2 separate regions of the Homo sapiens genome follow, and region 2 is linked to region 1. Evidence: promoter capture Hi-C in human tissues and cell types (Jung and others, 2019). All regions are on one chromosome and are shown on one strand. Each heading gives the region's core, a stretch centred on a gene start or on the middle of the fragment in contact. The rest is flanking DNA. Distances are from core to core; before and after follow the strand shown.

Evidence for each region. The method cuts DNA at HindIII sites, captures the fragments that hold promoters and counts their contacts. A contact is called where the count stands out against the background at its distance.
Region 2: a contact is called between a fragment that was not itself captured here and the fragment with the promoter of SFRP1 in region 1, in 1 of the 25 tissues and cell types used here (IMR-90 fibroblasts).

What each region holds. Positions count from the first base shown.
Region 1 is chr8:41,307,810-41,311,687 of GRCh38, reverse strand. SFRP1 (secreted frizzled related protein 1) reads left to right here and starts at 2,215. Exons shown (of 3, transcript NM_003012.5): 1 at 2,215-3,072. The coding sequence starts at 2,529. RefSeq lists enhancers at 48-575, 2,495-3,265, 3,266-3,878. The HindIII fragment of the contact is 13,871 bases long and covers 1-3,878 here.
Region 2 is chr8:40,456,234-40,460,111 of GRCh38, reverse strand. No RefSeq gene overlaps it. Among named protein-coding and RNA genes, the nearest start is that of SIRLNT, 110 kb to the right of the region's middle. The HindIII fragment of the contact is 6,301 bases long and covers 1-3,878 here.

The sequences.
Region 1 (3,878 bases), core at 966-3,465:
TCTTCCCCTGAATGGATTTGTGAGATTTACTCCTGACTTGGGACTTCCAGGGCAGTCACCTGGACGAATTTCCAGCATTTAACCGTGGACAGACACAAGTCCTCCTGCCATTCGGGAAAACTGAAAACGTGAGTGAGCGGTCAGCTAAGCCTGGGTTCAGAGGTGAGAGGATGTTATCTGCAAACATCCATCTTTGCAGTGAGCAAACAGACGCATTTGGCTTGAGGTGGAGGGCCTGGCCCTAGGAGACAAAAAGACCCCCTACCAAACAGCATTTTTCTCTAAATGCCCCTTGAATTGAGACACAGTTGCCGGGTCTCCTGCGGTCTTATTCTCTGTGAGGAATGTCTTCCTCAGCTCCACAGGCCGGCCTCACCAATTGTCTTGGGATTAACCCTTGGCCATCCCGATCTTGCTCTCTCTTCTCTGTGTTTTCCTTCCAGCCTCCATGTCACCTTTTGAGTGTCAAGGCATCTTCCATTGGCCACGAAATGACAGAGAAGTCATCCATCTGCAGAAGCCTCCTGTGTGCACCGTGGAATCACCGTGTCTGTACGGGCACGAATGCTTTAAGAAAACAGCCCTGCTTCTTCACAAACTCTAGTCATTTCACTTGGAATCTGTCCATCAAGAAATTAGGTTTGCAGAGTCCAAAGCAAGCTCCCTAGAGCTTTACAAACAAGCTGGCGGGCAAGGCAGCGCGCCCTATAGTGTCTCTGTGGAGCGCTAAGATCTGTGACCCCTTTGCCACATGGGGTGTGCGCTCAGACTGGGCTATGAATATATCAGCCTCTCTCCACCCGCACTTAGGGACAGAAGATATGGAGACTCCAGGAACTTCATGAACTATTTGCTGTGGTCTTCTGTCCCGGGATAGTCCGGGTCTCACTCCCAGCTCTCCAGAGCTTAACCCTCCCTCTCAGGGGAATGTTTGAAACCTACGAAGAATTCTCAGGAATTCGAGGTAGAAGGTGGCAGAGAGACTTCTGTTCCTGGGGGCCGAGCTGTTGTGCTGATACCGTCCTCTTGGCGTCTGCCCTAGTGGGGACCCTTGATTTTAACTTGAAGTTCCTGGACTGGGTCTAACCTTAGCATGTGTGCCTGAGTGATGGACTTGGTATTTACACCAGCCACGCTGATAAGTGCACATGTGTTTTTAATGTTTTGGCTTTCCACACCACAAACACACAGATGTGCTGTCGCCCGGGCTAGGACTTGAGTAGGGTTTTTCTATTTAAATATATATTATATATTTAAAAAAGTGTCCTCCCAGAGCTAATACCGTTGCTAGCAGCTCTTCCTGCCGCCACACCGGGCAAAGTCCACCCACTGCCCCAGTGTTGAGGGCCACCATGGGCGGCCCCACCTGGAGAGGTGCTGCTCACAGCAAACAGCTCCAACTGCGCCTTCGCCTCGCCTTCCAGGGAGCCCAGCCAGGCCCACTGGGTATTTACAAGCAGACCTCCCTCGCTTCAGCCTTCCTGAACCCCTGTTAGTTGGGAAACCACCTGTCTGCACCGCAGCTAGAGAACCGAGGAGAGGAGCCGCTAGTCTAAAGGGCTGTTGGTTGAAATTAGGAAGCAGTGTAAAGAAAAAGAAAAAAAAAGTTTGGGAGGCCAAGGCAGGAGCATCACCTGAGGTCAGGAGTTCGAGACCAGCCTGGCTAACATGGTGAAACCCCGTCTCTACTAAAAATACAAAAAATTAGCGGGGGCATGGTGGCACGCGGCTGTAATCCCAGCTACTCGGGAGGCTGAGGCAGGAGAATCGCTTGAACCCGGGAGGCGGAGGTTGCAGTCAGCGGAGATAGCGCCATTGCACTCCAGCTTAGGCAACAAGAGCGAAACTGTCTCAAAAAAAAAAAGTCTTCATAATTTCATGGGTTTGCAAGTATGATCCAGGCTCCCCGCTTCTCTGCAAGCCAATGCGAGTTAATTACAGCGTCCGCCCTGGTCTCTCTCCACCCCACGCCGTGATCCATTCCCCTTCTTTTTCTCCCCTTGTCTCTTTCCTCCTCCCCCTTTTATTTATGTATTTTTGGTTTTGTTTTTTAAGGGGTGTTGAGCCGCGTCTGGTTCTAGTAAACCGAACCCGCTCGCGAGGGAGGCGATTGGCTCCCGCGCCGGTGACGGACGTGGTAACGAGTGCGGCTCGCCCCGCCGGGAGCTGATTGGCTGCGCGGGGCGGCTCCGAGGGCTCGGCCGTAGGAGCCCCGCGCACTCCAGCCCTGCAGCCTCCGGAGTCAGTGCCGCGCGCCCGCCGCCCCGCGCCTTCCTGCTCGCCGCACCTCCGGGAGCCGGGGCGCACCCAGCCCGCAGCGCCGCCTCCCCGCCCGCGCCGCCTCCGACCGCAGGCCGAGGGCCGCCACTGGCCGGGGGGACCGGGCAGCAGCTTGCGGCCGCGGAGCCGGGCAACGCTGGGGACTGCGCCTTTTGTCCCCGGAGGTCCCTGGAAGTTTGCGGCAGGACGCGCGCGGGGAGGCGGCGGAGGCAGCCCCGACGTCGCGGAGAACAGGGCGCAGAGCCGGCATGGGCATCGGGCGCAGCGAGGGGGGCCGCCGCGGGGCAGCCCTGGGCGTGCTGCTGGCGCTGGGCGCGGCGCTTCTGGCCGTGGGCTCGGCCAGCGAGTACGACTACGTGAGCTTCCAGTCGGACATCGGCCCGTACCAGAGCGGGCGCTTCTACACCAAGCCACCTCAGTGCGTGGACATCCCCGCGGACCTGCGGCTGTGCCACAACGTGGGCTACAAGAAGATGGTGCTGCCCAACCTGCTGGAGCACGAGACCATGGCGGAGGTGAAGCAGCAGGCCAGCAGCTGGGTGCCCCTGCTCAACAAGAACTGCCACGCCGGCACCCAGGTCTTCCTCTGCTCGCTCTTCGCGCCCGTCTGCCTGGACCGGCCCATCTACCCGTGTCGCTGGCTCTGCGAGGCCGTGCGCGACTCGTGCGAGCCGGTCATGCAGTTCTTCGGCTTCTACTGGCCCGAGATGCTTAAGTGTGACAAGTTCCCCGAGGGGGACGTCTGCATCGCCATGACGCCGCCCAATGCCACCGAAGCCTCCAAGCCCCAAGGTAAGGCTGCCTCCTCCCACGTGCGCGAGCCGCCCCCTCCATCCCCCGGCCGGAGCTGCAGGAGAACCCGCGCCACCCTACGCCCGCCCGCCGCTGGGTCCCGGTGCTGGGGACTGAGGGCCCGAGGTTGCTCGCATGCTGTGCACGTGATTCCTAAGCGCGTCTGGTCTGTCCCAGGTATCGCTCAGCGCCCCTCGCGACCCAGGTGCACGGCGGGGCTGGCCCGGGAGCGGCAGCTCTGCGCCTTGGCCTCGCAGGGACTCGCTGTGGTCCCCGGAGCCGCTCTTCCTGGGATCCAACTTCGCCTTTCCCATACCTGAAACAAAGCCTTGCGCTTTAAATAACAGGGGAGCTTCCCTCTCCTCTAGGAGGACTCCGAGTCCCTATCGAAGTTTTTAACCTCTGAGACGGGAGGAAAAAACAAAAACCCAAAGCGTAGAAAGTTCAGAAAGGCCGAGAGAATGCTTGGAGCAGCTTTTGTTTATTTTCATAGGTTCGACAAAGATTTAAAAAATAAAACCAAGCCCTTTCCTTCACTGGTCATTCAGTCAAGTAGCCTTGGGATTGCTGCAAAACTGGCTGAGAAAGTTTAGGAACCGTGGGGACTTCTGTTTCTCCACCCCTTCCAGGTACCAGCTCTGCCCTCGGAGGGCTGGGGGTGGAAAGTCTTTTCTCCCTCCCTCTAGCGTACCCCCTGCTTTTCTCATTTACACAAATCCTCAGCTCATTAGAAAGATAAAAATGTAATTAGCTCATTGTTCATCTCCTCCCGGGGAGAGCAGCTCTGCAAAATGCAGACTTTCCTA
Region 2 (3,878 bases), core at 844-3,343, 850 kb after region 1:
AAAATAACTTATGAGAATGTGAGGATTAAACTACTTAATGTTCAAAGTGTTAGAACAATATGTGGCACTTAGAAAAATAAAAATAGTGTTACCTAAGAACACTATTTCACATTTCATCATATTTATCTTGGAATTATATTCATAATGCAAAAAATAGAAAACATAAAAATAACTGTATCATACTTACCAAGATGAATAATAGATCCCTTTAATTTTTGTACATTAAACAAACAGCAAATCCTAGATAACAAATACATCGATGGTTACGGTACACCATTTCATACTTGTGCTATTTTTGTTTTGGGAGGTTTTTTGTTTTGTTTTGTTTCTTTTTTTTTTTTTTAGTCAGGGTCTCATTCTGTCCCTCAGGCTAGAGTGTGGTGGCACAATCATAGCTCATTGCAGCCTCAACCTCCTGGACTAAAGGAATCCTCCTTCCTCTGTCTCCCAAGTAGCTAGGACTACAGGCATGCACCACCGTGCCCAGCTAATTTTTTATTTCTTTGTGGAGAGGAGGTGTCAGTATGTTGCCCAGGCTGGCCACAAACTCCTGGCCTCAAGGGATCCTACTGCCTTGGCCCCCCAAAGCACTGGAATTATGGGAATGAGCCACCATGCCCATCCAGATTCCTATCCTAAATTTTCATGGCAAATCACTCATGGTCCTTGCTCAATGAGGCCTTAGCTAGGATGACTTAAATAGCTGGGATCTGGAATAAACTCAGGCCTTCTTTCTTCACATATCTGTTACGTAGGCTAGCATTACTTGAAGACTTAAAATATCTGCACATGGCATCTCCATGTGGCTGGAGCATCTCTTAGGGGAGTTTATGGGTTCTGAGAGGGAGGCCCCTAATTGAATCTGGTGGAAACTGCTTGACTTTTTATGACTTAATGGCATAGAATCACTTCCGCCATTCTCAATTGACTGAAGCAAACGTAACTTCATACATCTGATCCCCTGGGAGAAGTGGAATTATTAGACATTAGTAAACAAAGAACAGTTTTCTCAGTTTCGAGGTTATAAGCCTTATGTATTTCAGGGGTATCTCTAACTTTTATGATTGTTAATCCTGGAATAAACATGACCTTCTGTGATATATCTCAGTATTTCCCTGTGGAGAACAGACTGTCAAGATGTTACTCTTCTGTTCCCAAATGGTAACATTCCAAGTTTTTATTCCTTTTTCCCCCCCTGTTTGGTTATCAGTCAAGTTTCTTTGGGTCTTGGAGCAATAACTAGTGCATCAGGGGATAAGATACTTTCCATAAATGCAGGTTTTACCCTAGGACCAAAGCATAGCATGCTTTGGAATGCATTCTTTTTTTTTTTTTTTTTTTTTTGAGATGGAGTCTTGCTCTGTTGCCGAGGCTGGAGTGCAATGGCACGATCATGGCTCGCTGCAACCTCCACCTCTCGGGTTCAAGCAATTATCTTGCCTCAGCCTCCCGAGTAGTTGGGATTACAGGTGCCCACCACCATGCCCAGCTAAGTTTTGTATTTTTAGTAGAGACAGGGTTTCGCCATGTTGGTCAGGCTGGTCTCGAACCCCTGACCTCAGGTGATCCGCCTGCCTCGGCCTCCCAGGAATGCATTCTTTTCCTCAGTTAATGCTAGCATTTGGCAGCTGCCATTCCCTAAAACTTCTGAGCCCAGAGCCTGTGCCTCAGTCCTCAAATGCCCTGTAGACGTTACTTCCTCACTCTGCACTTGTTCCCTTTCAATCTCACCGTTGCTCGCTCCTCTCTGCTGTGATGAGCAATTGCTGCCTTCTCACATCAGGGATGGCTTCCATCTGGCCAGAACTGTAGGTGGAGTCCTGATCCATGTGAAGAAGGACTGCTGGGAGCCCATCTTAAAAGTAATACCTTTTTACCACCTTGGGAAGACTTCAAGGTGAGGTGTGCTTCACAGTTCCCCGGGCTTCTTCCTGAAGTGCACTGAGGTTTCTGAGCCCCTCTTCAAGGCAGCTCCTTTGCTATCAAAGGTGCACCTGTTGCTGGCCATCCAGCCTCTGGGCTAGAGCTCTGGAAGAGCTGCCATGTCAAAGCCACCCACCGTGAAACCAGTTCCCTCGTTCCCAGCATTACGCTTCCTCCAGTGACAGACTTAATGCTTCCCCACTTGCTTTTTTGAAAAATAACTAAATAAACCCAAGGGAGAGTTCAACAGTTTTAAGGAGGATGCCAGAATACCAAGAAGAAAGGATTCATTCCTAAAATAGAAATTCTGAAGCACTAGGAGTACATGCTACAGACCCCAGTTGTAGAACCCAGGGTGTAAGCCATTTTTCTATGATGAAGTTTGAGTTTGTTTTGCTTTTGGTTTAGTTTGGTTTACTGTTTTCCTAGTGAGTTCTGACTCCATAGGGTTTTTGTTTGTTTGTTTGTTTGTTTTCTGTAGGACAGGGGTTCTGCTGACACTGTTTTGTTTGAAGGGAGATGGGGACAGCTGAGACTCTGGTAAGCAGTTCTTATGCACAAAAGTTAACAGAGTTGTCCCATAGCAACTGGCTCCTGCTGCCAGGGTTGGCTGGGCCTGCAGAGTAGTGACTGCAGGACTCCAGGCCCCCTGCTTCTGTTTCCAAATGGGATCCTGCTGCTGGTAGCAAAGCTGCTCCCTTTTGTCAAGCCCTCCTGGTGCATCCTTTACAGACAAGTGGGCTGCAGCTTTTGCCAGATGGGTTGCTGATGGTGCAGCTGCCCCAACTGAGCAGTAAACTCAAAAAAAAAAAATGCTGATGGAAATGGGTGTGCTGAGCAAATGCGCCTGTCTTGGGGAGATCAGCACATAGTTTGTCTGGGGCAGCTCCCTGGGGCTTAAGTACATATTGATGGAAGCCAAACAGAAGTCTGAGAGATCTTGCCTACTGAAGTCAAAATCTGCCTGCTCTGAACATAAGGCATTGAGCATTTCATGCCACCCTCTTGGGGATCAAGTGCTGTGGCTGTTTGGTGGGGTAATTACAAATGTGGACTCTGGAGTGAGATTGGGTTGGAGTGCCCTCTGCCACTTCATAACAGCAAGAACTCAGGCAAGTTAATGAATTCTGCAAAGCTTCAGTTTCTTTATTTGTAAATCTGAGATGCTAATATCCATCTTTGAGGATTTTTATCATGATTAAATGAGAAAATACATGCACACCACTTTGCACGGTGCCTGGTAAAAAGAATATGAGTATTGCAGTCGGACAAATCTGGGTAGTAATCCTGGCTTGATTACCCACCAGCAGTATAGCCTGGGGAAAGACATAATCTCTGGTAGCCTCAGTTTATTCATCTGTTTAATGGTTTCACAATCATCTTCTAATTGGTTGTTATTAAAATTAAATGACAATTTATGAACATAGGGAAAGCATTTATGAGAGGCACACACATGCTGGTTTCACCCTCCTTTGTCTGCCACTGCGTGCTCTGGCTTATGCGGAGCCCGTGGAGGGAGTGAGTCTCCCGCCACCATCATTGATTTATTGGGGCCAACAAGGACTTGCCTGCCAGGACCTTGCTGGGGATTCCATGCATCCACTTCACCACTGCAGTCAGGAATGGATTTTTCCGCCTGAAGTGACGAGAAGGAAAGGTGCATTAATGTGGAGCCTCCACACCATACATTTCACAAAGACCAATAACCAACTCTGAAAGGTGCAAGCCCAGGATTTATATGTGTGATAAGTCACAGCTTTACCTATTTTTTTTCTAGACCACCACAATGAGCTGAAAAAAGAATGTATGAAAGTCATTTCCCTCTATTTAAAAATCTGGACCTACACTGTAGAATATAAAATAGCCTGTAAGCTATTTCTGAAGGGAAGAGGCACTTGATTAAAAGAGAGAAGAGATAAAAGCAAAAGAAAAAGCAAACAAAGGGAAATTCAAGA